Regions from separate parts of the Homo sapiens genome. Here all the other regions are linked to region 4. Evidence: promoter capture Hi-C in 16 types of primary human blood cells and fetal thymus (Javierre and others, 2016). All regions are on one chromosome and are shown on one strand. The core of a region is centred on a gene start or on the middle of the fragment in contact, and the rest is flanking DNA. Distances in the headings are between cores, read along the strand shown. Region 1 overlaps REST (RE1 silencing transcription factor). Region 2 overlaps CEP135 (centrosomal protein 135). Region 3 overlaps CEP135 (centrosomal protein 135). Region 4 holds the start of SRP72 (signal recognition particle 72). Region 5 has its middle 41 kb from the start of REST. Region 6 has its middle 27 kb from the start of SPINK2. Region 7 overlaps CRACD (capping protein inhibiting regulator of actin dynamics).

Region 1 (2,835 bases), core at 10-2,509, 460 kb after region 4:
TGCCAAAGGGTGACAGCAAAGTGGAGGAGAATAAAAAGCAAAATACTTGCATGAAAAAAAGTACAAAGAAGAAAACTCTGAAAAATAAATCAAGTAAGAAAAGCAGTAAGCCTCCTCAGAAGGAACCTGTTGAGAAGGGATCTGCTCAGATGGACCCTCCTCAGATGGGGCCTGCTCCCACAGAGGCGGTTCAGAAGGGGCCCGTTCAGGTGGAGCCGCCACCTCCCATGGAGCATGCTCAGATGGAGGGTGCCCAGATACGGCCTGCTCCTGACGAGCCTGTTCAGATGGAGGTGGTTCAGGAGGGGCCTGCTCAGAAGGAGCTGCTGCCTCCCGTGGAGCCTGCTCAGATGGTGGGTGCCCAAATTGTACTTGCTCACATGGAGCTGCCTCCTCCCATGGAGACTGCTCAGACGGAGGTTGCCCAAATGGGGCCTGCTCCCATGGAACCTGCTCAGATGGAGGTTGCCCAGGTAGAATCTGCTCCCATGCAGGTGGTCCAGAAGGAGCCTGTTCAGATGGAGCTGTCTCCTCCCATGGAGGTGGTCCAGAAGGAGCCTGTTCAGATAGAGCTGTCTCCTCCCATGGAGGTGGTCCAGAAGGAACCTGTTAAGATAGAGCTGTCTCCTCCCATAGAGGTGGTCCAGAAGGAGCCTGTTCAGATGGAGTTGTCTCCTCCCATGGGGGTGGTTCAGAAGGAGCCTGCTCAGAGGGAGCCACCTCCTCCCAGAGAGCCTCCCCTTCACATGGAGCCAATTTCCAAAAAGCCTCCTCTCCGAAAAGATAAAAAGGAAAAGTCTAACATGCAGAGTGAAAGGGCACGGAAGGAGCAAGTCCTTATTGAAGTTGGCTTAGTGCCTGTTAAAGATAGCTGGCTTCTAAAGGAAAGTGTAAGCACAGAGGATCTCTCACCACCATCACCACCACTGCCAAAGGAAAATTTAAGAGAAGAGGCATCAGGAGACCAAAAATTACTCAACACAGGTGAAGGAAATAAAGAAGCCCCTCTTCAGAAAGTAGGAGCAGAAGAGGCAGATGAGAGCCTACCTGGTCTTGCTGCTAATATCAACGAATCTACCCATATTTCATCCTCTGGACAAAACTTGAATACGCCAGAGGGTGAAACTTTAAATGGTAAACATCAGACTGACAGTATAGTTTGTGAAATGAAAATGGACACTGATCAGAACACAAGAGAGAATCTCACTGGTATAAATTCAACAGTTGAAGAACCAGTTTCACCAATGCTTCCCCCTTCAGCAGTAGAAGAACGTGAAGCAGTGTCCAAAACTGCACTGGCATCACCTCCTGCTACAATGGCAGCAAATGAGTCTCAGGAAATTGATGAAGATGAAGGCATCCACAGCCATGAAGGAAGTGACCTAAGTGACAACATGTCAGAGGGTAGTGATGATTCTGGATTGCATGGGGCTCGGCCAGTTCCACAAGAATCTAGCAGAAAAAATGCAAAGGAAGCCTTGGCAGTCAAAGCGGCTAAGGGAGATTTTGTTTGTATCTTCTGTGATCGTTCTTTCAGAAAGGGAAAAGATTACAGCAAACACCTCAATCGCCATTTGGTTAATGTGTACTATCTTGAAGAAGCAGCTCAAGGGCAGGAGTAATGAAACTTTGAACAAGGTTTCAGTTCTTAGTTTGTAAGGTATATTACATTTTATATTCATTTATGATAGCAGACAACCTTTTAAGATTGCTTTAATTAGTATCTGATGTTGATTTTTAAGTGGCATTCTTTTCCTTAGGACTTTTTATGTATACCTGTTGATTGTTGTGTAAATTTTAGTAAATCTAAGAGAGTGTACTAAACCAGCAGGTATCTGTTAGCTTATGTGTTTAATTGAAATTAGAAGGCTAAGATGGTATAACAGCATTTTATTGCTTTGTCCAGCTACAACTTGTCATTTTTTTCTCCATGTCTTATCTTCCTGTTTCACTTTAGTTTATTCTTCGTTTTTTATTGAGATCTATAAAAAATTGGCTTACTTAATAGCAAATTACTTGAAGAATTTGCCTGCTTTATATAAAGTTAGCACTTTAAGATTTTTTTTTTTAGAGATGAGAAGACATTTAAATTGAAGAAAAATTCCCCCAGCAATAGACAGTCTATCAGTCCAAGTATTTACTTCCTGAGTTTTGATCAATATTTTTTATTTGTGTATGTTAATCGTCATAAAAACAGTGATTTTGGTGTGTTTTTTATTTTGGTGCTTTAATGGCTTAAGATGTTGCACATTTTTTTTTTCTTTTGGTTTCTGTTTATGTTTTTTTGCCTATGCAGTTAAATTTTTCCTAGAAATAGCATTTGTGTTGAACAGTAACACTTTATACATATATATATGCATGTTTATTTTGTTTGGCGTCTTTGGAGGGATGCTTTTAGACTTGTTTGCAAAAGGGCAGTTTTCTTTTTCTTTGCTGCAGTTGTCTATTTTGCAGAATAATAGTGTGTGCAAGTTTGTGAGCAAATGAAATATGCAGGTTCAATCTATTGATTTTGATTTTTACATCTTATATCTATGCCAGAATCTGTATTTCATATAACTTATTTATTTCGAATGGATGTAGTAAATTCACAGCTATCAGTTTTGATTTTGCAATAAATAAACCACTAGGTTGCATGTCGAACAAATTTTTATCTCAAATACCAACCATCAGTTTTTTTTTTCATGTGTTTTGGTACAGCTAATTCCTAATTGTAGAGTGTTAAATGTTTGAGGAGAACCTTTTCTCATAGATGGTTGGTGTTCATATGGCTACTTTACAATAAAGAGAACTGTAAGTGATATTTGGAAACTACAAACCTGGAATTAGGAGATA
Region 2 (2,860 bases), core at 319-2,818, 500 kb before region 4:
TTCTCCACCTCCTGCTCACTCCTTAACCTATTGTAGTCTGTCTTCTGCACTCACTATGTGAACTGGTCTAGTTAATTACATTAGTAACATTAATTGCTAGATCCAAAAGGATACTTACAGTCTTTGTTTTCTTGACCTACTCTGTGGTATTTGATATTATTGATAATTGCTCTTTGAAACTTCTTCCATGACTTCATTTTTTTCCAGTTTTCTTTTTTTTAAGCCTCTTTTTTTTTTTTTTGCTTTTTTTCAACTGTCCACTCCCTGAAATATTACTGTTTTCTTGGATTCTGTCTTTGACCCCTTCTCGTCTTATGTATCTTTTTCAAGTGTCCTCATCTGCTCTCTTGGTTTAAAATACTGCCTGTATATTGATGACTCCTTCATCTCTCTGTGGCTCAAACTTCTCTGCTGAACTCCAGACCCATATACCCACCTTTACATTGGGCATTTCCACTTGGGTGGAGTCTTTTTGTACTCATATGCCTTGTACTGAACTTTTTCTCTTCTGGTTTCGACTCCTTTATTCTCTACTTTGGTTGGTAGCATCAATGTTTGCCCAAGTGCACATTCTGTATTCTTTCTAGATCTCTTTCTCTTGCCTTCGCATACCACTCACCAAGTTCTGTCATTTCTCCTGGCTAAGTGCTTCTTAAACTTATTTCTTCTGTTCTATCCTCTACCACTGTTTTATTTTAGTTATTAATTGTTTCTTATGCATTTCTGCATTAGGTCTCCCTGCCCCTGCCTCTGTTTTTATTCCTGTCAATTTCATCCTTTAGTCCAGCATAATCGTAATTAGTTTTGTCCTAGTTCTTCAGACATCTCCAACTACTAGATCCCATGCACATTACATCCAGTCATACCAAGCTATTTCTGCTGTCTCAAACATTCCATGTTTTTGTTGCTTTTTGGTATGTTTGGAATGTTTGGTTATTTATTTAAGAAAACCAAAGCTTGGGCCAGGAGTGGTGGCTCACGCCTATAATCCCAGCACTTTGGGAGGCCGAGGCAGGCGGATCACCTGAGGTCAGGAGTTCAAGACCAGCCTGGCCAACATGGTAAAACCCCATCTCTACTAAAAATACAAAAATTAGCCAGGCGTGGTGGCACATACCTGTAGTCCCAGCTACTCAGGAGGCTGAGGCAGGAGAATTGCTCAAACCCGGGAGGCAGAGGTTGCAGTGACCCGAGATCATGCCACTGCACTCCAGACTGGGTGACAGAGTGAAACTCCGTCTCAAAAAGAAAAAGAAAAAGCCAAAGCTTGAAAGTGTGAGCCTTTCCAAATTCTTACATAAATAACAGATAATTAAATTCACCCCAGTTTCCTATTCTTTTTAATATTGAGGTTCAGTAGCAACTTACTTTTCTTAGTGTGTTACACTCATTCATTTATTCTACCAGGAACTGAAGTAGTTGAGATTCAGTTCTAGTACTTGAGCATGTATGTAATCTGCTAGCAAGTTTCTTTTTATATAAACATTGTTAAATCTTAAAGGAGGGAAAAAAATACAAAAATTAAATTAGGAAGAATCTATGTAGTAAAAATACATATGAAAGATATAGTGACAGCATGTCTGTTGACATTTTCTATGTAATTTATTTTTGTTCTGCATTTATGCATATAATATATGGACACAAATATGAATGTTAATCTCTTGCATACATTGGTACATAAGAAAATATATCCAAATAAATGTTTGTACAGTGTTAATCATTTGGTTGAAAACCAGATTTTTTAAAATGACAGCATGACTATATCTTCAGATTGAGCTAAGAGAACGAGAGATAGAACGACTGTCAGTTGCTTTGGATGGTGGTCGGTCCCCTGATGTCCTTTCTCTGGAGTCTAGAAATAAAACCAATGAAAAGCTTATTGCTCATTTAAATATTCAGGTAATGGCTTTTATAATTATTTCACTGAGTGTATATAATGGTGTTTATAATAAACACTATATGTTTATAATGGTCTATGGGTTTGTAAAAGTGGCAGGAGTTGTTCACTGAGGTATTATTTGCAATGGGAAAAATTTGATAGAACCATAGTATCCAGAAATAGGGTGGAGTTATTGAAAAATCATGTTTTCAAAGACTAATGAGGCAGTAATTAACATGCACCATAACATTAACAATTTAAAGGAAGAGAATAAACTCTGGGCACATGATTGCCAATTTGCTTTTAAGAAAATGTATATATGGACTTGGAAAGAGAAAACGAAGAGAATATACCAAAGTATACTAACAAAGCTTATCTTTCTGTGGTGGGATATTCTCCTTTATGGTTTTCTCTTTTTCTTTTTTAAAATTTTTATGAGTATATATTTATTTTATAATGTAAAAATTTAAAAATATATATAAAAATTAAATACCTAGCTTTTATCTACTTACGTAGTGGATTCCTTTGCCATGCATTTGACCTAAGGCTGAAAGAGCAGGAGAGTTCCATGCAGTATGACACAGGAACTTTAGAAATTTTGGTATGACAGAGTTGCCTGGGCTACAAACAGAATATAGTAAGTAAAAAATATCAACAGTAGCTCTAGAGGAGTGCTGTCCCATAGAAATATGATATGAGCCATATATGTAATTTAAATTTTTCTAGTAGCAGCTTGATTTAAAAAAATAAAAAGAGGTGAAATTAATTGTAACAATATATTTACCCCAGTATGTCCAAAATATTATAATTTCAACCAGTAATGTTTTTACATACCTATTTTTTTGTTTGTATTATCTTTGAAATCCTGTGTATATTTTACAGTTATAGCACATCTCAGTTTACACTAGCCACATTTCAGATGCTCAGTAGCCACATGTGGTTGCTAGAGGCTACTATATTGAACAACACAGTCTATTATCA
Region 3 (2,732 bases), core at 221-2,720, 490 kb before region 4:
GATGTTACATAGTATAGGCCAGGTCTCTTTTCAGTGTATCATATTATCAAATTATCCCTTCTTGGCACTTCTGCATTTAGTGCTTGTAACATTAAGATACCATAGATCCCAAGTCTACATTTGTTATTTTTCTTTTTTTTTAATAGGAAAAAGGCATACAAATTTATTTACATGTGCATGGGGAGAATCAGAGTGCTCTCATCTTTATTTTCTACCATAGTGATGAAGACAGTGAATCTTTTGAATTGTACTAAATTGTAGGCATCTTTTAAATTGCACTAAATTGTAGAAATGTTGGAAGTAGTTGCTTATTCAGTGAATATTCTTAATATATACTGCCTGGTAGAAATATTTGCATTTATTTGACTGTATAAAAAGACCTCCTGTAGGTCTGAAGCTGAGACAGTTGGGGGTTGGTATGCCTGGCGTATTGATCTTAGATTCAATCATAGAAAACACTGAGAAATGTGCTAGGCTGTTACAGTTACCTGTACTGGGCGAGCAGGCACACAAGTACCCTGCTGGCCCCTTCTCTGGAGAAGATAAACTAACTAGTGGCTCTAAAAAATTACCAGGCATCAGAATCACTTAGAGGGCTTGATAAAATACAGTTACTTGGCCCTACCCGGAAGTTTCTTGACTGAGTAGGTCTGGGTTGGGCTTCAAACTCCAAAATTTGCATGTCTGACAAGCTTTTAGATACTGCTAATGCTTCTGGTCTGGGGATTATACTTCAAGTACCACGAGTATGAACAACTTTGGGAGAATAAAAGTTGAAACATCTCATGGGATCTGATCAAGTCACATCATTGGCAGCTAAGTCTCTTCTGGGAACTTGAAGGCCAGGAAATTTGCCCTGGTACTGCCAGTGCTCTCATCTGCTCTCATCATAGATTTTTAAAACTGTGTTCCTTAATTACGTTAAAGGCACTTGTGTTCTTTTTGTCTGGTAGCATCTTTCAGTCAATCTCATCATCAGTATCCTTGTGACAACCATGTGGTGATGATTATATTTTGTTTTTTAATTATGTTTCAGGGTGATTACAATTCAGAAATTCATCAGATCACAAGAGAAAGAGATGAACTTCAGCGTATGCTAGAAAGATTTGAAAAATATATGGAAGATATACAGTCCAATGTTAAATTATTGACAGCAGAAAGAGATAAACTAAGTGTCTTATATAATGAAGTAAGAAATGTATTATAATTAAGCCAATAGATTGTATAGAACCAGTTAACTATAATGGAGCCTGTATATATCTTTCACATTACTATAATATATGGACCTGTGATATTTCTTCATAATTAAAATTATCAGTAGTAGTTTCTACTATCATTCTGTTTCTAAAACACAAATTTCTCTTATTTTTTCATATTTATTCTTTCCCTTTTCTAGCCTATCTATGTGTCAGATCAGTTAGAGATAGTCTTCTTTTTCTAAAACTACCTGAAGCAGGTCTCAGCCTGACTCTGAGCCAAATTTATGCTTGGAATTCAGACGTAGGGAAATGTCTATCAAAACAGTGGGTAGCACCCACTATTTGGATATATTGGCTATTTAGGACTTAGTCTCTAAATACTGTACTCTAGGAAGAGGGAATTGGTATTCAGCTTGGCCCCATTAACAAATCCTCAGTTGTTAGAGGGCAAGGTAAGTCTGAGCAAAGCATGGTGTCTGTCACCTAAATTTGTTCACATACCCATCTCCCATGAAATCCTACTGCTATTTTGAGAAGGGGAAGAGGCATGCAAGTTAAAGGTCACGTTGAAAGAGTCACTTAATGAGTTTTTTGGGGGGAATTCTGCAGTGTAAATTGATCCACTTCTGGGCTTTCCCCATTGCTAGCTTAGATTTCAGCTTTCTTGGGTCTGCCTAGTTACTTCCTGCTTGTCTGTCTGCTGTCTAGTTTCCAACATTTTGTGGCTGGTGCCTCCCTCAATCCCCTTGTCTTTTTTGTTTTATTATTCTTACTATTTTAATCTTTTGTTGGGATTTGCGAAGAGAGTGACGGTAGCATGTGTTCAGTATGCCTTTTTTAACTGGAAACATATCCAAAGTATTTTTTATTTATATCTTTTACTAAAGTGCCTTTTTAATTTATATCTTTTCATTCTTTAAGGCTCAGGAAGAATTATCTGCCCTAAGAAAGGAATCCACCCAAACCACAGCACCCCATAATATTGTTAGTCTTATGGAAAAGGAAAAAGAACTTGCGTTATCTGACTTAAGAAGAATTATGGCAGAAAAGGAAGCTTTAAGAGAAAAATTAGAGGTAAGAAGATTGACATGTTTTTGAAAGGTAATTTGTTGAGAAAAAGAGGTCTTTGTATATACATTTTCCTGTGAAGTTACTATTGGCCAAATCCAGACCACTTTGTTTATGTATGGCCTGTGAGCTAAGAATGGATTAAGAAGAATATTTCATTGTTGATAAAATGTTATTGGATTACCTTGCTTATTTGTTTATGTATTATCTTTAGCTTCTTTTGTAGTATGACCTACAAAACCTAAAATATTTACTGTTTTTTTACAGAAAAAGTTTGCCAATCCCTGAACTTAAGCAGAAGTTTCTCATATGGGAAGACAGTATCTTTGTTTGTTTGTTTGTTTTTGTAACAGCTTTACAGAGATATTCACATACCATACAATTCACCCACTTAAAGTATACCATTTCATTGGTTTTAGCATAGATGCTCTTTGACTTACAATGGGATTACATTCCAATAAACCC
Region 4 (2,917 bases), core at 143-2,642:
AGCAAGGCCGGGCACGGTGGCTTACGCCTGTAATCCCTGTACTTTGGGAGGCTGAGAGAGGGCGGATCACTTGAGGTCAGGAGTTTGAGACCAGCTTGGCCAACACAGTGAAACCCCATCTCTACTAAAAATTCAAAAATTAACCGGGCGTGGTGGCTCATGCTACTTGGGAGGCTGAGGCAAAAGAATCGCTTTAACCCAGGAGGTGGAGATTGCAGTGAGGTTCATCCTGGGTCACAGAGCTAGACTACGTCTCAAAAAAAAAAAAAAAAAAAAAAAAAAAAAGCTAGGTTCCTGAGGGACACAGGAAGTAGTAGAAGTTGTAAAGGTCATGACGAGATATGAGTCTGAAGAGCAGGCCATTCAATGAAATACAACATTCACATCAAGTGAATCACTCACATCGTCTTGGTGTGGTGGCTCATGCCTGTAATCCCAGCACTTGGGGAGGCTGTGGTGGGAGGATTGCTTGAGCCCAGGAGTTCCAGACCAGCTTGGGCAACACGGCAAGATCCCCGTCTCAAAAAAAAAAAAAAATCACTCACATCAAGTGTACCCAACAGATATCCATTCCCTTCGTACATCTGAACACATCTTGATATTAACGGTCGCAAGCAAACCCTAATATTTTATATCTCTAGAACAAATATAGTATCCCCATTTCACAATCGGGAAAACAGACTCCCAGAAGCTAAGTAACTTGTTTATTGTCAGACATCTAGTGAGTCGCAGAGCCAGGGAACTGACCACGGGCATTTTCACCCCATTACCCTTCCAGCTTATTGCCGACTGCTCCCGAAGGGAGCGAAAAGGACAGGCAAAGGGTTTCACCAAACCCTTTGTAATGGGAGATTCTTGCCTTCTTACCTTTCCTCACGTTTGCTTCTCTGCCAGAATGTCTTCCCGCACTTTCCCCAGAACCCAAGTTCTCCTAATCATCTTTCAAGATCCCTTTCCCTCAACCACAGATGAGCCGTGCCTATTTCTCCTTCAAATGACTCCCTATGGCTTCTAGTTGGTAGTCTTTTATTTACCACCTCATAGTCCTTTTATTTATATCCCATAAATGATCGTCCGGCCCCGCACCGTGGGACCAGGACGCTGCCTCGACCATGGCGGTCTCCTGGAAACAGGCTGCTTTGAGCCGAAACTGGTGACCGTTTCCCAACCCCGTCCAGGAGTCCGACGCCTCTTTTCTCCAGGCCAACTTCAAGTGAGGTGTATCAACTCTATCCGCACAAATTTCTTGCCACGAGAGCAGAAGATTATGATCTCTGATGCTGCCTTAGGGCTGAAGACACTCCCAACTCGGCGACGCTTAGCAATCATCGACTTCCTCCTCCTCTTGGCTGCCTCGGAGATCCTGTTCCGGGGCAGAGGTCTCCCCGCCCCGCCCCTCGTCTCCTCCAAGATGGCGAGCGGCGGCAGCGGGGGGGTGTCAGTACCTGCGCTGTGGAGTGAAGTGAACCGGTATGGCCAGAACGGCGACTTCACGCGCGCTCTCAAGACCGTCAATAAGAGTAAGTGTCGGGGTGGGCACTGGGGCGGGCCCAGGCCGGCTGGAGGATGCGGCCTGTTTCCGGCGCGCGAGACCACCTCGCGCGGGAGGCACGGGAAGGGGAGACCCCCGAAACCCCCCCGTCTATTGTCCGCCCGGCTCGGGCCCTAGCGCCCGGAAGACGCAGGTCTCACTCCTCGGCTTCACCAGGCCAGCCTGGGGTCCCTGGTTGCTTACAGCCACGTGTACTTCTCTTTTTACCCTCCGCGGGAAGCGAGGGAAGGTTTTAAAGAGACCGCAGCTCCCGGAGTCCATTTCAAACTGTTTTCTTATTTGACTCCTTTGCTGCTTTATTTCACAAATATTCCAAAGTGCCTCCTTTTCTTCTTCGTCTTGAGCGCAGTGATCAGGACTCTATTGCTGAGGGAGCTTGTTCTCTTTGGCCGCTAAAGGGGGAGGAACCTGCTTGGGACACGTAGTTTAGAGGCTGGTGCTAACCAGGTGGAAGCTGTACGGGTTCTACGGGGCGAGAGGAAAGGGCTGGATCTGGATGTCAGGCCTGTCATTCCCATAGATGAGATCTCTTCAGTGTTATTAAGTTAGGAAATATGTGTGTGGAAGCACCAACACTTGAAATAATGTCGGAAGAAAAGTTTGGCCTGTTTTTTTGCCCTGTAAGGGATGATTTCGGTTTTTACCGCCTTTGGTGTGAGGTTTAATTCATCATATTCTTTTGTTCCTTACTACATACCTGGAATATGGCCATGCTGCTTAATGTTCTCGGTGGTGCGCAGTTCTTCTCTACTGAAGATACAGCCTGTGCATGTTAGATTTGGAAATGTAATTACCAAGGCAGGGCTTAGCTGTTCAGAGTAGCAGTAACCTAAAAGGTGTGTCAGTAACATGCAAAGCTATCTAAGTAATTTTCAACACTCTAGTACTGGGTTAACGTGAAAAGTAGTGATTGTGCCCACAGTGCACTTTTGGTGATTTCAGACATTGAGGAAAATAGCTACGAATTAGAATTATTTGATCCCTAAATTTGTTTGAATTAACTCTAGCCTTCCAACCAGTACTGTATACTTAGTATAGTATTTTGCAGGAATTCTTTAATCAGCAAAGATTGTCAACTTGTTTACCAGTATGTTTTCTTAATTGGTAGAAATTCTTGTGATTCTTTGAGAATTGGACTTCTGTAGTTGCACAGGAGCAAGAGTAACTATGATCCTGGTCATTTTAACACCGAACAGTTGTTAGCGTTGAAACTTGCCACCTGAGTTCTTCCTTATACTTTGGTCATCTTAGTTGAAAAGGGGAAATTTTAATGATTTTTGGAAACGTTGCCAGCAAGATAAATTGCCTTTGTATTATACTTTATAAGATTTTTCCAAAATATTCATTTCATATTGTCAGTAACCT
Region 5 (2,768 bases), core at 11-2,510, 400 kb after region 4:
GTCTTGCTCTGTCACCCAGGCTGGAGTGCAGTGGCATGATTTCAGCTCACTGCAACCTCCGTCGCCCAGATTCAAGTGATTCTTGTGCCTCAGCCTCCCGAGTAGCTGGGATTACAGGTGCGTGCCACCACGCTGGGCTAATTTTTGTATTTTTAGTAGAGACGAAGTTTTGCCATGTTGGCCAGGCTGGTCTTGAACTCCCAACCTCAGGTGATCTACCCTCCTCAGTCTCCCACAGCGCTGGGATTGTACAGACTTGAGCCACTGTGTTCGGCCTTTTAACTCCTTTTCTGTAGTGCGGGTACATAATTGCTTCTTCCTTTTTATTTCCTCTGCACCTTTGTATTTCTTTAGCATTTATTTCATTCTATTTTACCTTAATGGTTTTCTTGAGGAACGACTTCATGGGTATGTGTATTAGTCAGTTGTAGCATTACTAGGAAGGAATGCCTGAGACTGCGTAATTTAAGAAAAGAGGTTTAATTGGCTCACGGTTCTGCAGGCTTTACAGGAAGCATGGTGCTGACATCAGCTTCTGGCAAGGCCTCAAGAAGCTTCCAATCATGGTGCAAGGTGATGGGGAGCCAGCATGTCACATGGCCAGAGTGGGAGCAAAAAAGAGGGTGAGGCAGGTCCCACACTCCTCAACAACAAGATCACACGTGAACTCACTGAAGGAGAACTCACTCATCATCAAGAGAATAGTGTTAAGTCATTCATGAGGGATCCACCCAGTGATCCAGTCACCTCCCACCAGGCCCCACCTCCAACATTGGAAATCACATTTCAACATGAGATTTGGAGGCAACAAATATCCAAACCACATCAGTATGCAACATGTATAGCCACATGGGGCCCCACAGTTAGAAGCACCCTGTGCTAGATATAATGTTCTGCTGTCACTGTCTTGAAATTCTCCTTTAAAAAAAATTTAACAAGGGGCTCACATTTTCATTTTATATTGGCCTTGGCTTTCAGATTTATCTGTCCCAGAATTACAAAGGCAGAGACCCAGGGCTAAGAACCTGTCATGGACACCTTTGGATTCCTCATGGCACCTTGAGAATGCCCACAGTACATGTTTTTAACATGAAGGAGCTGGGTGCCATGGCTCACACCTGTAATCCCAGCACTTTGGGAGGCCAAGGCAGGCAGATCACCTGAGGTCAGCAGTTTGAGACCAGCCTGGCCAAGATAGTGAAACCCGATCTCTACTAAAAATACAAAAATTAGCCGGGCATGGTGGTGGGAGCCTATAGTCCCAACCTAGGAGGCTGAGGCAGGAGAATCATTTGAACCTGGGAGGCAGAGGTTACAGTGAGCTGAGATCACACCACGCTACTCCAGCCTGGGCAACAGTGAGACTCCACCCCAGAAACAAACCAAACCAACAACAACAACAAAACATGAAGGGAAAACTCCTTATCTCTGAAGGGCTTTTTTTCTTATTGTTTGTTTTTGTTTTCCGAAGCCATATACAGATCTCTTTAGTGATGATCGACAAACACGGAAGCCTCCAGAATTTTTTTTTTTTTTTTTTGATATGGAGTCTCGCTCTGTCGTCCAGGCTGGAATGCGGTGGCGCGATCTCAGCTCACTGCAACCTCCCCCTCCCAAGTTCAAGCAATTCTTCTGTCTCAGCCTCCTGAGGATTACACCACCACGCCCCGCTAATTTTTGTATTTTTAGTAGAGATGGGGTTTCACCATGTTGGCCAGGCTGGTCTCGAACTCCTGATCTCATGATCCGCCCGCCTCTGCCTCCCAAAGTGCTGGGATTAAAGGCATGAATTACCATGCCCAGCCCTTCAGAATTATTATGTTGGAGTCCCATTTTCCCTCTGATCTTTGCATGTTACTTTGAGCTTTACTTATTCCAAGCAAGAAACAAAGGAAGAATATTGTTTTCTGTTTCTCGTTTAGAGAGATCTATAAACATTCTCAAGAAGCAACAATTTCGGCCACTTGAAGCTTGTGAGCTCAATGTATCAACAATAGCTGTACTCAAAGAAGAATTGTGAGCCATGCACAAAGAAGTGTATATTTTCAGGCAAGCAGTAGGAGCTAGTGAATATATGATGGAGCATAAAACTATGATATTTTACATTTTTTGTCTGTCCAATTTTAGTCGCTGATTCTTCTGGATACTTTCAGGTGTTCAAAGTTCCTTGAATTTCAGTCATGGTAAGATTTACCATGACTTCTTGAAAAGAACATAAAAGATTTCAGATTGTTCTGGTTAACTTTATTAGAATGCCTTATTTTATTTTATTTTTGGAGACAGGGTCTCACTCTGTCACACAGGCTAGAATGCAGTGGCACAATCATAGCTCTTTGCAGGCTTGAATTTCTGGTCTCAAGGGATTCTCCCACCTCAATCTCCCAAGTAGCTAGGACTACAGGAATGTGCCACCACGCCCAGCTAATTAAAAAAAAATTTTATAGAGATGGGGACTCACTATGTTGCCGAGGCTGGTCGCCAATTCCAGGGCTCAAGCAATCCTCCCACCGCAGCCTCACAAAGTGGTGGGATTATAGGTGTGAGCCACCATGCCCAGCAGAATAGCTTATTTTCAGTCAAATTCTCAACATTTCCAAATTTATATTTGGAGGTAGTTCAGGCCTTTCTTTAAGTTATGCCCCCAAAATGTTAAAGAAATTTTCCCCAAAATGTTTACATTACTTCCTAAAGTGTTATAAATTGTTACGAATGTATCTTTTAGGCCGGGTACAGTGGCTCACACCTGTAATCCCAGCACTTTGGGAGGC
Region 6 (2,716 bases), core at 41-2,540, 380 kb after region 4:
GCAAGTCACCTTGTTCAGCTGACACTTAAAGGAAGGGGAGGGAGTACACAAGGGCATGAATACCAGGAGGGTGAAATGTTGGGAGCTATCTTAGAGGCTCCTATGGCAACTCTCAAAAAGGAAGGGAAGGAGAAGCTGGGGAGAAAGAGAGAGAAATGTAAATACCGGCCAGGTGCAGTGGCTCACGCCTGTAATCCCAGCACTTTGGGAGGCTAAGGTAGGTGGATCACTTGAGGTCAGGAGTTTGAGACCAGCCTGGCCAATCTGGTGAAACCCTGTCTCTACTAAAAATAGAAAAAAAAAAATTAGCCAGGCCTGGTGGCAGGTGCCTGTAATCCCAGCTTTTTGGGAGTCTGAGGCAAGAGAATCTCTTGAACCTGGGAGGCAGAGGTTGCAGTGGGCCGAGATCACGCCATTGCACTCCAGCCTGGGTGACAGAGTGAGACTCCATCTCAAAAATAAAAATAAAAAAAAGAAAAGAAATGTAAATGCCTTCTCAATGCCATATTTAGGAAGAGCTTAGAGAAGGGCAGAAAGAAGGAATTAAGTAGGAGGCAAGGGCAGCCTGAAGGACTGGTGAAATGGCTTGATCTTCCATGTTTTTTCTTTTATTTTTCCATATGTTAGGCAGATATTTTTTCCACATGGAAAAAATTATTATAACTAAAGACTAAGAGAAATAATACAGTGAAAGTTCAGGAATCTACCATGCAGTAAAAAATTTAATAAATTCTCAATATGAAAAACATGCAAATAAGGCTGGGTGCGGTGGCTTATCCTTTTAATACCAGCACTTTGGGAGGCCAAGGCTCAAGGATCACTTGAGGTCAGGAGATCAAGAACAGCCTGGACAACATGGCAAAACCCCACCTCTACTAAAAATACAGAATTAGTGGGACATGGTGGTGCATGCCTGTAATCCCAGCTGCTTGGGAGGCTGAGGCAGGAGAATCACTTGAAACCAGGAGGCGGAGATTGGCGGTGAGCCGAGATCATGTCACTGCACTCCAGCCTGGCAACAGAGTGAGACTCCATCTCAAAAAAAGAAAGGGCCAGGAGCGGTGGTTCATACCTGCAATCCCAGCACTTTGAGAGGCCGAGCTGGGCGGATCACGAGGTCAGGAGATAGAGACCATCCTGACCAACATGGTGAAACCCCGTCTCTACTAAAAATACAAAAATTAGTTGGGTGTGATGGTGCACACCTGTAGTCCCAGCTACTCAGGAGGCTGAGGCAGGAGAATCGCTTGAAGCCAGGAGGCGGAGGTTGCAGTGAGCCAAGATCACACCGCTGCACTCCAGCCTGGTGACAGAGCAAGACCCCGTCTCAAAAAAAAAAAAAAAGAGAAAGAAAGAAAGAGGCCGGGCGTGGTGGCTCACGCCTGTAATCCCAGCACTTTGGGAGACAGAGGCGGGTGGATCAGGAGGTCAGGAGATCAAAACCATCCTGGCTAACATGGTGAAACCCCGACTCTACTAAAAATACAAAAAAAATAGCCGGGTGTGGTGGCAGGCACCTGTAGTCCCAGCTACTCGGGAGGCTGAGGCAGGAGAATGGCATGAACCTGGGAGGTGGAGCTTGCAGTGAGCCGAGATCACGCCACCGCACTCGAGCTTGGGCGACAGAGCGAGACTCCGTCTCAAAAAAAAGAAAGAAAGAAAGAAAGAAAAACATGCAAATATAATTTTAAGATGGATAAAATTGAAGGAGTCCAGCTAACAGTTGCCAGGAGAAACAATATCAGTGGAACAGATGGAAATTATCAATGACGTTATGCAGCAGGTAGCAAAGAAATTATCAATGATATTATGCAGCAGGTAGCAAAGAAAAGTTAACCTCTGGAGGCTGGGTACGGTGGCTCATGCCTGTAATCCCAGCACTTTGGGAGGGCGAGTTGGGTAGAACACTTGAAGCCAGGAAAAAAATTAGCTGGGTATGGTGGCACATGCCTGTAATTGCAGCTACTCAGCAGCCTGTAATTGCAGCTACTCAGGAGGCTGAGGCACGAGAATCACTTGAATCCAGGAGGCAGAGGTTGCAGTGAGATCACACCACTGCACTCCAGCCTGGGCAAGAGACCACGACTCTGTCTCAAAAAAAAAAAAAAAAAGTTAACCTCTGGAAAAAATGAAGCCTATAAGGAAATGATATAAACCATGGGGAAAAAACATTTTTTTTAAATTTCAGTAGTTTTTGAGGTACAGGCAGTTTTTGGTTCCATGGATAAGCTCTTTAGTGATGATTTCTGAGATTTTGGTGCCCTTGTCACCCGAGCAGTGTACCCTGTACCCAATGTGTAGTCTTTTATTCCTCACCACCCCACCCTTCCCTCTGAGTCCCCAAAGTCCATTATATAATTCTTATGCCTTTGTATCTTCATAGTTTAGCTCCCACTTATCAATGAGAATCTATGGTATTTGGTTTTCCATTCCTGAGTTACTTCACTTAGAATAATGACCTCCAGCTCCATCCAACTTGCTTCAAAGGCCATTATTTCATTTTGTTTTATGGCTGAGTAGTATTCCATGGTATTTATATATACCACATTTTCTTTATCCACTCGTTGGTTGATGGGCATTTAGGTTGGTTCCATAGTTTTGCAATTATGAATTGCGCTGCTATAAAGACACTTGTGTGTGCAAGTGTCTTTTTCATGTAATGGCTTCTTTTCTTCTGGGTAGATACCCAGCAGTGGGATTGCTGTCGAATGGTAGT
Region 7 (2,877 bases), core at 301-2,800, 420 kb before region 4:
CCCCGCAGGGGAACCTGCCGCCGGGCTGCACCCCGGGAACTTGCGGAGAATATGGGACCTCGCCTGCCTTCTCCTCTTCCCGCGCCTCGCCATCCTGTCCCCAGGTCCCTGGCTCGGTCCCGACCGCGGCAAGGGCCAGAACCAGACCTCACCGTCCGGGATCGCGGACGCCGTCCGGGCTCAGCCCTCTCCCCACCGCCCCCGGAGCTGCATTGCTTTGTTTAACCTCTGCCAGACCGTTTCGCACAAACTCTTGTTGCCCCAATTCTGATGAGCCACCAGTTTGATAGCTGAGGCAAGACAAAGGTTTCCCCTGTTTACCAAGGGCCGGGGCCAGGAGACTGCGCGCTGCCCGTGGTGTAAAATCTGTTTTCTTTATCTTCGCCCGGGGCTTGTTGCGATGGTTTTCCTGGCACTATAACCGTCCTTTCTTGCAGAGCTCTGTAGTGGCGAGATTGGACCTCCTAACCCTACGGATACGGTGGGTGGGGTATGGCTTTTTTTTTTTCATGATTATCAGTAAACAGAAGCCGACTTTGAATTTTATAATATGTGTTCTTGAGTTAGAGACATCGTAATCATTTTCTGAATTCTGAATTTTAAGAGAATATATATTTCAAGACACATTGATTCAGTGGAGGGGGAGGGGGAAGAAAACCTAGTAAGTACGACCATGTGTTGTGAAATTTTAATATGGTTTTAGGAATAATGGCTGGGAAACTGATCTGGTGTAGGTGAGGGAGTGTGTGTGTGTGTGTGTGTGTGTGTGTGTGTGTGTGTGTGTATTGGGGGTGGTAAGTGGTGGTGGTGGAGAGGGAGTGGTTAGAATACAAAGGATAAGGCAGTTTTAGAAAAAGATTCTTAGTAAATATCCTGTGGCAAATTTTTGATTCATTAAGTTGTGAGTTAAATCAATGTTTCCTTTAAAAATCACCTATAGTAATTGTGGAATTATATAAAAAATGGCTCACAGTTCTTTGGCATTGTTTGTGACTCAGGAATCTGAATAAAACAGTCAGTTTTGAGTAATTTTTAAAAAGTCAACAAAGAGAAGACTCCTTCACTACTGTCTCCTTTATCCTTTGGGAAAAGGGAATCCTTGTTCAGTATATTCAAGAGAAAATTGCCTATATGAAAAAAAATTTCAAAGGCAGCTTTGAAAAAGAAACATTTTGAAAAATATAATATGGTTGCATTACAGATCACTTCAACTCAGAAGTGGGCAGGGAAAAAATCATGTTACTGGATCGCCCTTTCCACTGTTGATTATTTAAAATGCATTGTATTCAAAAGCTTAATTTTACAGTCATCTCTAACACATTGAGAAACTTTCACTCTAAAGACTTAGCAGTACTTACCGACCACTGAATTTGGAGGAGGAAGCTAACACCAACTTGACAATAGGCAATTGGTGTGAGAAACAAAAGCTAGCTCTTGGTAATAGTTCATAGTTCTTCATAAACTACAAAGCACTATAATAAATGTAAGTTATTATTATCGCTAGATGAGGAAGCTGTGTTTTACAGTTTTTCTCTTACCCAATTTCAGACCAATTAATTGGCATTAATTTGAAATTCTCCAGGGAAAGGGACAATCTTTTAGTCTTTTTTTGTGGTCTGTATTTCTGATCTGGCACACAGTAGGTGTTCAGTATGTAGTCATGGAAAGAAAGAATGAATAGGTGAAAAAAATACAAGTGGATAAAACGTGTACAGATGGAATTTGTTTACTTTTTATTCAACGAACATTTACTGAAGGCCTACTGTGTGCCAACAACTGTGTAGAGGTTTTCCACATACAGTTGATGAAAGCTTGGTGACCTCCTTTTTCAGTCATAGTTGATGTGTGTTTCTTCCAAGAATGGGGTCTCTTGGGTGGTTTTTTTCATCATTTTAAATCATCTCCTGTAACTGAGTGGCACAATAGAACATTTCACTTGTTGTATGTGCATATAGTTTCTCACAATGGCCTGTGGGGAGGCAGGGCAGATATTATCATTCCCGTTTTGTAGGTGAGGAAATCCAGACATGGCGAGATTAAATGACTTGCCAGCTCCTTGCCACTAAAGCAACAATGCCAGGGACAGAAGCTGGATCTCACGCCCAGAGCTTTCTCCCCTGAATCACACAACCTTCTCCAAGATACACTGTACCCCCAGAAAATCACGCTGGAATTAGACCCCATGAAAAAGTCTACCTTTTGGATAACTTTTACATAAAGAAAAGGTATATTTTACAACCTAGTACTTAGGGGAGTGGTTAAATACACAAGTTCTCGAGGCAGGTGATTGAATTTGAGCATTGGCTTTACTGGCTACTAGCTCTGCATCCTTGGCAGGTGATTTAATCTAAGCCTCAGTTTCCTCATCTGTAAAATGGGGGAAGTAATCCTATTTAGAACATTTTTGTGAGGATCAAATAAAATAATGTGGGCATAGCACAATGTTTAGTACAAACTAAGCACTCAGTGTCAGCTAATTTTTATTTTCATTATTTTAATGTAAAGCAATGGCTTTTAAACTTTTTAATTTTTTATTTTATTTTTATTTTTTTAAAGAGGTGAGGTCTCACTGTGTTGCCCAGGCTGGTCTCAAGCAATCCTCCTGCCTTGGCCTCCCAAAATACTAGGATTACAGGCATGAACCACTGCGCCCAGCCTAAACTTTTATTTTTGCACAGTAAGAGATGCATTTTACTTTGCCACCCAGTATACAGATACATTGTAAATATCTGTAATTAAAAAATTCATGAAGTAATGCTTAGACTTTGAATGTGCAATGCATTCTTATATTTTTTATTCTATTTTATTTAAAAAATGTTGGTTGAGATCGCTAAATGATTTCACATCCCATTAATGGGTCAGGAACTACGCTTTGAA

What was found. Contacts are between HindIII fragments. The CHiCAGO score rates a contact against its expected background, and 5 or more counts as called.
Region 1: a contact is called between a fragment that was not itself captured here and the fragment with the promoter of SRP72 in region 4, in 12 of 17 cell types (naive CD4 T cells, M1 macrophages, naive CD8 T cells and 9 more). The highest score is 9.4, in naive CD4 T cells.
Region 2: a contact is called between a fragment that was not itself captured here and the fragment with the promoter of SRP72 in region 4, in 3 of 17 cell types (fetal thymus, total CD4 T cells and non-activated CD4 T cells). The highest score is 6.8, in fetal thymus.
Region 3: a contact is called between a fragment that was not itself captured here and the fragment with the promoter of SRP72 in region 4, in 1 of 17 cell types (naive CD8 T cells). The highest score is 5.0, in naive CD8 T cells.
Region 5: a contact is called between a fragment that was not itself captured here and the fragment with the promoter of SRP72 in region 4, in 3 of 17 cell types (M1 macrophages, naive CD4 T cells and M2 macrophages). The highest score is 5.4, in M1 macrophages.
Region 6: a fragment that was not itself captured here is called in contact with the fragment with the promoter of SRP72 in region 4 in 7 of 17 cell types (non-activated CD4 T cells, M2 macrophages, M1 macrophages and 4 more); the score reaches 7.7 in non-activated CD4 T cells.
Region 7: a contact is called between a fragment that was not itself captured here and the fragment with the promoter of SRP72 in region 4, in 2 of 17 cell types (fetal thymus and erythroblasts). The highest score is 6.1, in fetal thymus.

The regions. Positions count from the first base shown.
Region 1 is chr4:56,930,531-56,933,365 of GRCh38, forward strand. REST (RE1 silencing transcription factor) reads left to right here. Exons shown (of 4, transcript NM_005612.5): 4 at 1-2,835. The coding sequence ends at 1,622. Among named protein-coding and RNA genes, the nearest start is that of REST, 24 kb to the left of the region's middle. The HindIII fragment of the contact is 4,321 bases long and covers 1-2,835 here.
Region 2 is chr4:55,962,504-55,965,363 of GRCh38, forward strand. CEP135 (centrosomal protein 135) reads left to right here. Exons shown (of 26, transcript NM_025009.5): 7 at 1,771-1,899. All of the region lies in intron 2 of LOC124900705 (a long non-coding RNA gene), which reads right to left. Among named protein-coding and RNA genes, the nearest start is that of CEP135, 15 kb to the left of the region's middle. The HindIII fragment of the contact is 609 bases long and covers 1,265-1,873 here.
Region 3 is chr4:55,979,107-55,981,838 of GRCh38, forward strand. CEP135 (centrosomal protein 135) reads left to right here. Exons shown (of 26, transcript NM_025009.5): 12 at 1,037-1,189; 13 at 2,121-2,273. Among named protein-coding and RNA genes, the nearest start is that of CEP135, 32 kb to the left of the region's middle. The HindIII fragment of the contact is 1,561 bases long and covers 691-2,251 here.
Region 4 is chr4:56,466,225-56,469,141 of GRCh38, forward strand. It overlaps SRP72 (signal recognition particle 72), which reads left to right and starts at 1,393. Exons shown (of 19, transcript NM_006947.4): 1 at 1,393-1,520. The coding sequence starts at 1,412. LOC124900706 (a long non-coding RNA gene) reads right to left here and starts at 1,334. Exons shown (of 2, transcript XR_007058126.1): 1 at 868-1,334. RefSeq lists an enhancer at 1,238-1,447. The HindIII fragment of the contact is 5,513 bases long and covers 1-2,917 here.
Region 5 is chr4:56,865,310-56,868,077 of GRCh38, forward strand. No RefSeq gene overlaps it. Among named protein-coding and RNA genes, the nearest start is that of REST, 41 kb to the right of the region's middle. The HindIII fragment of the contact is 1,416 bases long and covers 553-1,968 here.
Region 6 is chr4:56,847,566-56,850,281 of GRCh38, forward strand. No RefSeq gene overlaps it. Among named protein-coding and RNA genes, the nearest start is that of SPINK2, 27 kb to the left of the region's middle. RefSeq lists an enhancer at 1,168-1,667. The HindIII fragment of the contact is 3,045 bases long and covers 1-2,716 here.
Region 7 is chr4:56,049,532-56,052,408 of GRCh38, forward strand. The region is part of intron 1 of CRACD (capping protein inhibiting regulator of actin dynamics); the gene reads left to right. Among named protein-coding and RNA genes, the nearest start is that of CRACD, 1.9 kb to the left of the region's middle. RefSeq lists an enhancer at 1-138. The HindIII fragment of the contact is 518 bases long and covers 1,292-1,809 here.